2 separate regions of the Homo sapiens genome follow, and region 1 is linked to region 2. Evidence: promoter capture Hi-C in 16 types of primary human blood cells and fetal thymus (Javierre and others, 2016). All regions are on one chromosome and are shown on one strand. Each heading gives the region's core, a stretch centred on a gene start or on the middle of the fragment in contact. The rest is flanking DNA. Distances are from core to core; before and after follow the strand shown.

The links. The method cuts DNA at HindIII sites, captures the fragments that hold promoters and counts their contacts. A CHiCAGO score of 5 or more calls a contact.
Region 1: a fragment that was not itself captured here is called in contact with the fragment with the promoter of WHRN in region 2 in 11 of 17 cell types (activated CD4 T cells, naive CD4 T cells, total CD4 T cells and 8 more); the score reaches 10.6 in activated CD4 T cells.

The regions. Positions count from the first base shown.
Region 1 is chr9:115,016,838-115,021,503 of GRCh38, forward strand. TNC (tenascin C) reads right to left here. Exons shown (of 28, transcript NM_002160.4): 28 at 2,738-4,430. The coding sequence ends at 4,320. Among named protein-coding and RNA genes, the nearest start is that of TNFSF8, 89 kb to the left of the region's middle. The HindIII fragment of the contact is 1,245 bases long and covers 1,947-3,191 here.
Region 2 is chr9:114,502,790-114,507,696 of GRCh38, forward strand. WHRN (whirlin) reads right to left here and starts at 2,684. Exons shown (of 12, transcript NM_015404.4): 1 at 1,395-2,684. The coding sequence starts at 2,012. RefSeq lists enhancers at 1,173-2,063, 2,064-2,954 and a silencer at 2,479-2,778. The HindIII fragment of the contact is 12,008 bases long and covers 1-4,907 here.

The DNA.
Region 1 (4,666 bases), core at 1,319-3,818, 510 kb after region 2:
AAATATTCATTGAGCTCATCTTCTGTGCCTCCTGAGGGTTTCTCACAGGCCCACCCTGTGTGACCACCCTACTTTGAATACTGTGACCCTATCCCCTTACCCTAGTCCCCTTTGTCCTTATTACCCTTGAATATACCATTTAATTTGATCATTTATTACATTCATCATTCATTGTGTTTTGTTAGAATATAAACGCTATGACCACAGGGATATTTTCCTCTTTTTTTCACTGACAAATCCACACGGGAGGTGCTCCACAAGCATTTGTGAAAAGAATGAAGTTCTGTTTTCCAGTTAGTGTGGCTTGTTGAAAGGAATAAGATATCTTCACTGAAAAGAACTTGGATTTTGGAATCAGGCAGCCTGGCTGTGAATCTTGGTCTGACCCCAGTGGCATGGCTGCGAGAAGCCACCTGACCCCTCTGAGGCCTAGTTTTCTACATGACATGGAATAGTTCGATTTGTCTCACAGGTGACTATGATGCTTAGGATACTTTGGATATTTAAAGTGTCAAACACAGTGCTGGGACTACAAGAGGGTCAATAAATGTCACAGGCTCATGGTTTAGGGAGGAAAGTATTAGCCAAGGTATCTGGCTTCAAGGACCTGAAATAATCTAGGACTACCTAAGCAGAAAAGGAATTTTCTGGAAGGATATCAGGAAGCTCATAAAACTGACAGAAAGTTTGAAGAAGCAGGCACAGAAAATTATCAGGAACCAAAGGAGGCCAGGTAGCAGGAATCATCAGCCAGTCTGCCTTTGTCACTGCTGGAAACAACTGTCACCATTAGAGAGAGATATGGCTATACCCTGCGTGGTGCTGGGCCACAGATCCCACGGATAGATGGCCTCAGTGCTAGATTCTGTGGGGGAGCCAGTCTCCTACACTCTATGTTTTGCATTCATTGCTAAAGGTTAGAAGTCCCTCTGTGGGCATCTAATTGGCAAAGCCCAAGTTACGTGCCCATGCCCTGGCTATCAAGGGGAGGAGGAAAGAGTATTTTCCTCTGTGGCTTCCTTGGTAGGAGGCAAGGTTCTCAAATTTCCTAAAACTGGAAAGGACTTTGGATGCTGGGAAGCCATTAAATGACCAATAATCACTATAGGAAGAGGGGCAGGAAGTAGAAATCATAATGGATAAGGCCAGCAGGCAGCTGTAACAGTGGCACTCAGTGCTCCCAGGGGTGGGCGAGCCTGCCGGGGTCCCTGAGGAGAGTTAAAGGAGAGGGGGTGGAGGAGAGCCACAGAGCCTAGCACAGGTCCCCAAGTCTAGCAGCAGCTAGGGTGCCATGACTGCTCCTAGGCTAGAAGGGGCAAGTGAGAGAGCACTTTTCTAAACCTGAAGAGAGAGTTGCATGGAGACAGTCAGTTGACAGTGGCTACGGCTCTCTTATGTGGATGCTGACAGCCCACTGTGATGCTGTATAGATGGAGCTGGGCAACAAGTGCCCTGACCCACCCCCACTCATAGTCTCTTCCCTTCAATGTCCTGCTGGCTTTTCCCATTTTGACATCCACCTGGAAGCTGGGAGTCATTGATGCAATGAAAATAGGGTGGCCTTGAAGTACACAGAGCAGGGAGAAGGGGAGCAGATGAGAGAAGGAACAAAGGGAAGGTCGAACACCCTGGAAATTACTTCCCAATAGAGATATTTTGACTGTTTCATGGGGGCAGGGGTAGGGCCCAGGTCTTGAGGGTGAAGTGGAATTTTAAGAGAACTTTCAAGATGGAAGAGGTTTCCTGAAACAAGCCACAGAGCCAGAGGCTGAAGGACACGTTTGAGAAATGATTAGCTCACACTAGAGACTGTGGTCTTTGAATGCCATGGCCTCAGACCCGGTTGCCTGCCCTGTCCCCATTTGGGTTATTACTGACTCCTGTTTGATGTGGCTTCTTCACCAATCCAAATTTGATTCTTGTGTGGCTTGTGGGGAATACCTTCAAGCTTAATTAAGTACATCTACAGTTCTGGAGAGGAGATAGGACTTGGGTTTAGAGACTCACAAGTCAGCAGCCAGTGGAGAGGTAAGCCTCCAACTCGAGGCCTGGTTGCTACAGGGAGCCCGTTTGTTTGGATTTATATAGCCAGGAGAGCGTTGCTATGGCTGAATTGCATGCAACCGTTCTTATGATCTGGAACAGCACATTGTGTATCTAACATGACAGCATTTATTAAAGCAAGATAAACTCAGCAACAAAGGATATGGCTGGAACCATAAATTCCTCTGATCCTTGCTCCAGAGCCATCACATTCCATTTGAATGAGGCCTATCAGCCCAAACTTGACTTATTTTATTAAATAAGTCAATTTTCTGAAAATCCCTAAGAGAATGAACTGGGAATTACTCTCCCCCCATATACCCTTGTTTAAAAAGAGAAATGTTATGCGTTGAGCAGTTCTGACTCACTATATTTGCTGAGGACTAACAGACCTGCCATCCAGGCAATGGGTTCCCCATCACTAGATGTGTTCAGTCTGAGGCTGGAGGAATATGGGCTTGCTCCCTTTTTGGGGACTGCAGTGTAGAGGAGAAGGCGATATTCCTAATAGACATTCTTCCTAGTTTTCAGAGTTCAGGATTGTAGAAGCCTGAGGAAGCATCCAGTTGAACTGCCCCCATATCCCATTCTGCAACCTTCACTCTCTTGCCACAGCACACATTTCCCCAAAGAAGGAGAGATTTTCATTAAGGGACCGGGAAAGAGCAGGAACATTGGAGCCAGAAGACCTGGGTTTAAATCCAAATTCTATTATTTATTGAGTAGTAGCCACAATCAAGTCATTGGGTTTCTATGAACCCCAGTCCATCTCATATAAAGTGATAATGATGATAGCTAACATGTACTAGCACTTAATATACACCGGGTACCATTCTAAGGGCCTCAAATGGATAACATAATTTATTCTTCACAAAAATGTTCTGAAATGAGAAGTATGAGTGTCCCTACTTTACAGAAGAGGAAACTGAGGCATAGAGAGGTTAGGGAACTTGGGAATGGTGGAGCCAAGAATTGAACTCAGGCAGTCTGCCTCTGGGGATCTTAGCCCATGTGTGGTAACAATACTTACCTCAACTATATCATAGAGTTTCTAGGAGTTGCATTAGAAAATGAGTATAAAAGCATCTTTTAAACCATAATCTATTAGTCTTGGAAATACTGAGCAAGATGCTGAATCTCAAGTTGTAAGCTTTTTTTTTCTTTTCTTTTTTTATTTAGAGACAGGGTCTCCCTCTGTTGCCCAGGCTGGAGTGCAGTAGTGTGATCATAGCTCACTGTAACCTCTAACTCCTGGGCTCCAGTGATTTTCCTACCTCAGCCTCCTGAGTAGCTGGGACGACAGGTGCGCACTACCACGCTTGCCTAATTAAATTTTTTTTTTTTTTTTTTTCTGTAGAGACAAGTTCTCACTATGTTGCTCAGGCTGGTCTCAAACTCCTGGGGTTAAGCTATCCTCCCACCTTGGCCTCCCAAAGTGTTGGGATTACAGGCCTGGCCTGTAAGCTTTTCCCAAGTGTGTTCAACTTTATTTAAAAAAAGTGCTTCCCTCTCTCCCAGTCTTTAGTCTCCTTTCCACCCCTCCCACTTGACCACTATCCCTACTTACCTTTCCTATCCCAACATTCCCCGCTTTGTTCAAATGATTGGCTTTGGTGAAATTCAGACTCAACAATTCAAAGCAAAATAACAAACTCAAAAGTACTTGTGCTTTTATTTAAAAAAAAAATACAATCAGGTACTGTCCAGAAATGTTTTGGAAAGAAAGATCTCTTGAAAAATCCTTAGTTTTCATCATCATCATCATCATTATTATATTAATAATATTAATCATATCCTTAAAATGGAAACAGTATTGCTTTTCTGGTTTCTGTTGTATGAAATGTAAAAAAAGGGATGGCTTCCAATGACACATTTAATCTTTGCTAACAAAAATAATGACAATTAATTATACAGCTTCATGTAAAATACGGCTGGTTCTAAAACAAACTACCCCTGTACATCCTACCCCTCTCCCATTCCCAGAGCCACCTAAGAGAAGTAAAAAACTATTGCGATGTTGTCACTGGGAGATTTTTGCTGAATCAAACAACAAAACAGAAACATGTTGGAGACTGATGTCTTTGGTGCAAAGAAAGAAATCACAGAGGAGGTGAGGCCCATGCTGTTGCCGTTGGCCCCAGGGATCCATGGTCAGCTTTGACTCTCACCAAATGCCCAGGTGTGGACCGATGGTTGGGCTGGTTGTATTGATGCTTTGGTAAAATCCTTTCCTCGCTCTGGGCCTTATTCCTCTCTCACCCAGTGGTCCCTGGAATTTATGCCCGTTTGCGCCTGCCTTCAAGATTTCTGAAGTTGCTTGGTCTCAGCTTCATCTCAGCAAACTGGATTGAGTGTTCGTGGCCCTTCCAGTGGAACCAGTTAACGCCCTGTTAAAAAAAAAAAAGAGAGAGAGAGAGAGAGAGAGAAGGCCTCCAGGTTGGTTACTGTTAGGCGAGGTGTTCACTGATCATTGCTATTTAGTCATTCAAACTAAATGAGTTCTGTTTCAATTTGACCATTTGGTATATCACAGCTGCCTCTTGCCTATCTCTCTGTTGGTCTGGGTTGTGGAAACTTTCAAAGGAACTGGCTGAATCTGACCCAGTTTTTCACCTGAGTCAAG
Region 2 (4,907 bases), core at 1,434-3,933:
TTAGTGCATAAATTTATCATCTGGGAACTCCAGACCATTTAAGGCCAAGGCTAATGGACTACTTCTTTATAAATATATGGAATGCTAAACAAAGGGAAAAGATTGATAGAGGGGGAAGAGGAATTGTTGCATGGAAACTCACAACGAGCTTTGCCCACTGCACCCTGATGCAGTATAAACCGATCGGCCTTTTTCCAGAAGCTACAAAGAAGTTTCTGAAAGCCTCAAGGGCTTCCTCCAAAGGGGTTGATGGGCTGGGAAGCAAATGAGGGAAGCCAACATCAGGTGCACAGCCAGGGAGACGGCTCAAGACTCACCTGGACACAGGCCACTGAACGGCACTCAGGAGGAAGTAGTCGTGGGCCTCTGCTGCCTAGGAGTTTCCCAGCAGCCAGCAGGCCCTCAGCTGGAGTTCAAAACACCTGCGCTGGCGGGGAGTGGGGGTTTACAGAACAGTCCAACCCCCTGAGAAGCATTTCTCTGCAGAAGCAGAGCATGTGTCCCTTTTCCCCCAAACTCTTCACTTCTTGTACGCAAAGGAGGTCGGGGGAGGGGGGAAGGGGGAAAAATGCCTGCAAAGGATCCATGAATCCACCCTGGACCCAACACTATCCATCATACTCCAACTGGTTTTCAGTAGCCCTGGGCTGTAGATCAGTAAGCACACACACTCCTTTAAAAAGCATGATTAAATCCCTGGAAGCCTGTTGTCATGAGGTTATATTTCTCAATTAACAAATGGCAGAAAGGACAAACACTCTCAGGGGCTAGGGAATTTATTTTTTACATTCAGGCAGGAGTCTCATTTCCAAAAAGGTTAGGGACCGCTTATTTGGTCCAGTGGCCCCATTTTCCAAGTGGAGAACAAGAGGTCCTGAGAGGGCAAGTGACTTGCTTCAGGATACACAACCTGGTCCAAAAACAGCAGCGTCAAGCCAGTGCACTGTGGATCACACAAACGGCCTCCTCAGGCCACTTAAGAGCTAACAAAACTGTTTCAGGGAAAAACAAAAAACAAAAAACCACAGAATGGCAGTAGCAAAGGCCACCTAATTATGCCAAGCAGAGATTTTATCTCTTTTAATGCTCATAAGAATCCACAGCCCTATTCACACATTGTAACCACACATTTGCTCAAGTATTTGTTACTATCACCTGCACTAGCTTTTAAGCCTCACAAAGGCAAGGGCCATGTCTGTGCAGAACTACGTTCCCAGTGCCTGAGAGCTATTTGCTCTGTAAGCTATACATTCCTGTTTTAAAGTATTAAAAAAAAAAAAAAAGCCCAGAAAGGCCAAGTGATTCATCTAAGGACACACAGCATGGAGTTACTGAAAAAGCTGTGCCACTCTGTCCATACTCTGCCCCAGACTCTCTCCAAACCACAGCCTTACCTTGACGGCCTCCGCGTGGGTCACCCGGGCCAGGGATTTGTCGTTGACGCGCAGAATCTGGTCCCCGACCCGCAGTCCTTCCTTCTCAGCTAGAGAGCCTGGTTCCACCAGAGACACGTAGATGCCCACGCCGTGCTCCGAGCCCCCACGGATGCTGAAGCCCAAGCCCTCGTGGGCCTTGGCACGCCGCAAACTCACCAGGCGCACCTCCCCTGGCCCCGCGCTGTCGGGGCCGCCCCAGGCGGGCTGCCTGTAGGGGGTGGTGGCGGGCAGGTAGAGGCCCTCGGCCGTGTATTGGTCGAAGAGCAGCTGGTCGGAGCGCGGGATGACCAGACGAAGCATGGGCAGCAGGCGCCGCTTGACCGGACTGTCCAGCAGCACGCGCAGGGTGCGCACCAGGTCGAAGACGTTGCGGCGCGCGTGGTAAGCGTTCAGGCAGTGGGTGAACTGCTCCCGCTCCGCCTCGCTCAGCAGCGCGGTCAGCGCTTGGTGCAGCTGGCGCACGTTGGCAGACAGTAACCGCAGCCCCGCGCCCCCGCCGCCGCCCGCCCCGGCCGCCGAGCCCAGCGAGCCGGTGGAGGACGAGCTCACCGACAGGCCGTCCAGCGGCGCGTTCATCTCCACGCCGAGGCCCGGCCGGGCTCTGAGCGCGCGGGGTGTGGGCGGTGCCGCTGTCCTCGCGGGTACTGGCGCGACAGCTGGATCCCCGGGAGCGCGGAGACGACGGCTGGAGCCTGGGTTTGGGGAGCACGGGTACAGTGGCTGGATCCTAGGGGGTCGCGGAGACCGCTGCTAGAGTCCCGGAGGCGCGAAGACGGCGGGGGTCGCGAACCTGGAATCCGGGGGACGCGGAGACGTCGGCGGGTTCCTGAGAGACACAAGAGTTGGCTGCTGGAGCCCGGAGGTGGCGGAGACTGCTGCTGGAGTCCGGGGGGCGCGGGGTCAGCAGCTACATTCTGGAGGGCACGGAGACGACGGGTGGCTGGAGTTTGGGGGCGCCGCAAAGCTGACCTGACTGCCCCGTCACACCATGCCCGGGGCTCCCCCAGCCGGGCGCCCGTTCCTCTAGGGCTGGGGGACCCCAAAGTCAGAAGTTGGGGCGGAGGGCGCTCTAGTCCCAGAGCACTCCGGGGAGTGGCAGCCGGTGAAGCGGCGCGGGCGTCCGACAAGGGGTGCGGGGCATGTCCGGGGCAGCCCCGGGATGCAGCCGCCCGGGGAGCCTCCGCGCCTCTGCGCCGCCCGGCCGCAAGCCCGGACTTTGCGAACTGTTGAGCCACCCGGGCCGAGTCTTCCAGCGAGTTCCGACGCCGTCTCGTTGCCAGCCCGGCCCGGGCCCCGCCCCCTCGTCCCTCCTCCTGCCCGCCCCCTCCCCACGGGCTCCTCAGGAAATGACGTCCCGCCCGGTGCGCCTGGCCGTTGCCTGGAGACGGGGTGAAACAGTCCAGCCCCAGGGAAGAAAGGGGTGAACGCGGCGGTAGGGGTGGGAGGAGCCCCCGCGTCCCCTACCCCGCCGGCAGAGCCGGGAGCGGGGCTCAGAAACAGCGCTCTTCGGCGGTCGCAGCGAGTGCCGACACCAGGATCGCTTTGGAGTAATTAGCCGGCTAGCTAATTCACAATTCGGGGGGAAATCGTCAAGTTTTTTGTTTGTTTGATTTTTGCTTCCAAAATACTGGGCACTTCAGTCTCGGTTTTCTTCCTTACAATGTGGCGCTCCCCTCCTGCACGCGCCCTGACATGACAAATTCCAGGGTTTATGTGGACGGTCGTTGGCCACCTACTGTGTGCGAGAGACGAATACAAGCATAGACTGCTGTCTGCCGGAGTCAACTCCGTGGCAGGGATGGATCAGGCTGGACCCCTTCCCAGTCTCCATTGCAAGGGAAAAGCCACTTTCAGAAATATTATATAAAGTGTACACCCCACGCTCGCGCACACACGTACAAATGAGCGCATATAAAACTGGTGAAATCTGAGTAAGGTGGGTGGATTTTATCAATGTCAATGTCCTGGTTGCCATCGTGTCAACATCGGGGGAAACTGGGTGAAGGGTACATGGCATGTCTATGTATTATTTCTTAGAACTGCATTTGGATCTACAATCTCAAAATAGAAATTAAAAATATACATATTTGAAGTGGCTTGGAGAAAAATCTCTTCTATGCTCTCCCATCCCTAGGCAAAATGGGAAGATACACCCAGGTGTGCCCTGGAGTCGGTCGTCACCCACCCAATCCCCCAAATAAGATTTAAGTAAAATCCTGTGCTTTTATTCTAATGGGGAGCTTCATAGTGCTACACACACACACACACACATACACACACACACCCTACCTCACACACATCCCTTCCAACCTGAGCTGCCTCTCCTAAGCTACTCTTCTATGTATTTTTCGTAAAAGTCTTCCAGAATTTCCATTGCAGAGCCAGCTGACATCTATCCAGGGTAGGGCAAGATGGAGGATTACCTGGAGGATTTGGTTTGTGGTGGACCCAGAAGGATAGATCATTCATTTATTTATTTATTTATTTATTTATTTATTTATTTATTTATTTGGTCGCTTTTCATTCAACGTTTTTGAAGCATCTGCTCTGTGCTGGGTCATGTGCTGGGTGCTGGAGACCCAGGGGAGAAAGATCAAATAAATAGAGTTAAAAACCAGTGTGATACCTGTTGTAATGGCGAGGGAGCCCAGGTTTAGGAGAGGAGAATATGGTAAGGACTTTACTGAAGAGGCGACACCTGAATGAAGAACCTGTAAGGAAAACGGACTTTCTCCTCTAGACAATGGGGAAGAGTGGAAAGGTTTTCAACACTGCTGACTTAATGCATTGAGGCTAGGAATGGAAGCTGTGTTTTCCCTAAAGATCTTCAATTCTTTACTTCCCTAAAACAGACATAGGTTAAATTAATGCCCAATAAACATATTTAACAGTGTGTCTGAGGAAGATTTTTTAAAAAATAGCCAATTAGGCTACCTTTGGCCATCTGTCTTAAAGCTCTAATCTTAGCAGTTAATGGTGTCTATCCTTATTCCTCCTTTGTAACTGTTGTTGAAGCCTTTCATGCAACTAGACCAAGATGTTTAAGGAAAAAAAATCAATCTTCTCCACCCCAAAAATGTATTAATGACATACCTCAAAATGCCACCAAGCAGGGCTTAATTGTATGCAGTTCAGGTTTCCTGCTAATGTGTTTCATGCTCAGCTCTCACTTAGTTTGTTTTAATTATAATTACTGTGATTGGTTTGATAAATGCATCCCAGGAGCTAAGATCCCCAGTCCCAACATTTTATTTCTGTGCAAAGGATGTTTTCAAGAAGGTGTTTTGCTTTAGGCAGCAGAAACCAGGCTGCATGCAGTCTTAGTAGAAAAAGAAACACTTTCTTCTGCAAACATCAGAGACCGTCTGAAATGCTGTGCTGTTGTTTAATTTCATAGAGGACGGTTTGGGAGGGCAGATGATAGAAAAAGAAATCGTTGGAGTTTCTTCCATCCATCTTACATAACCACCT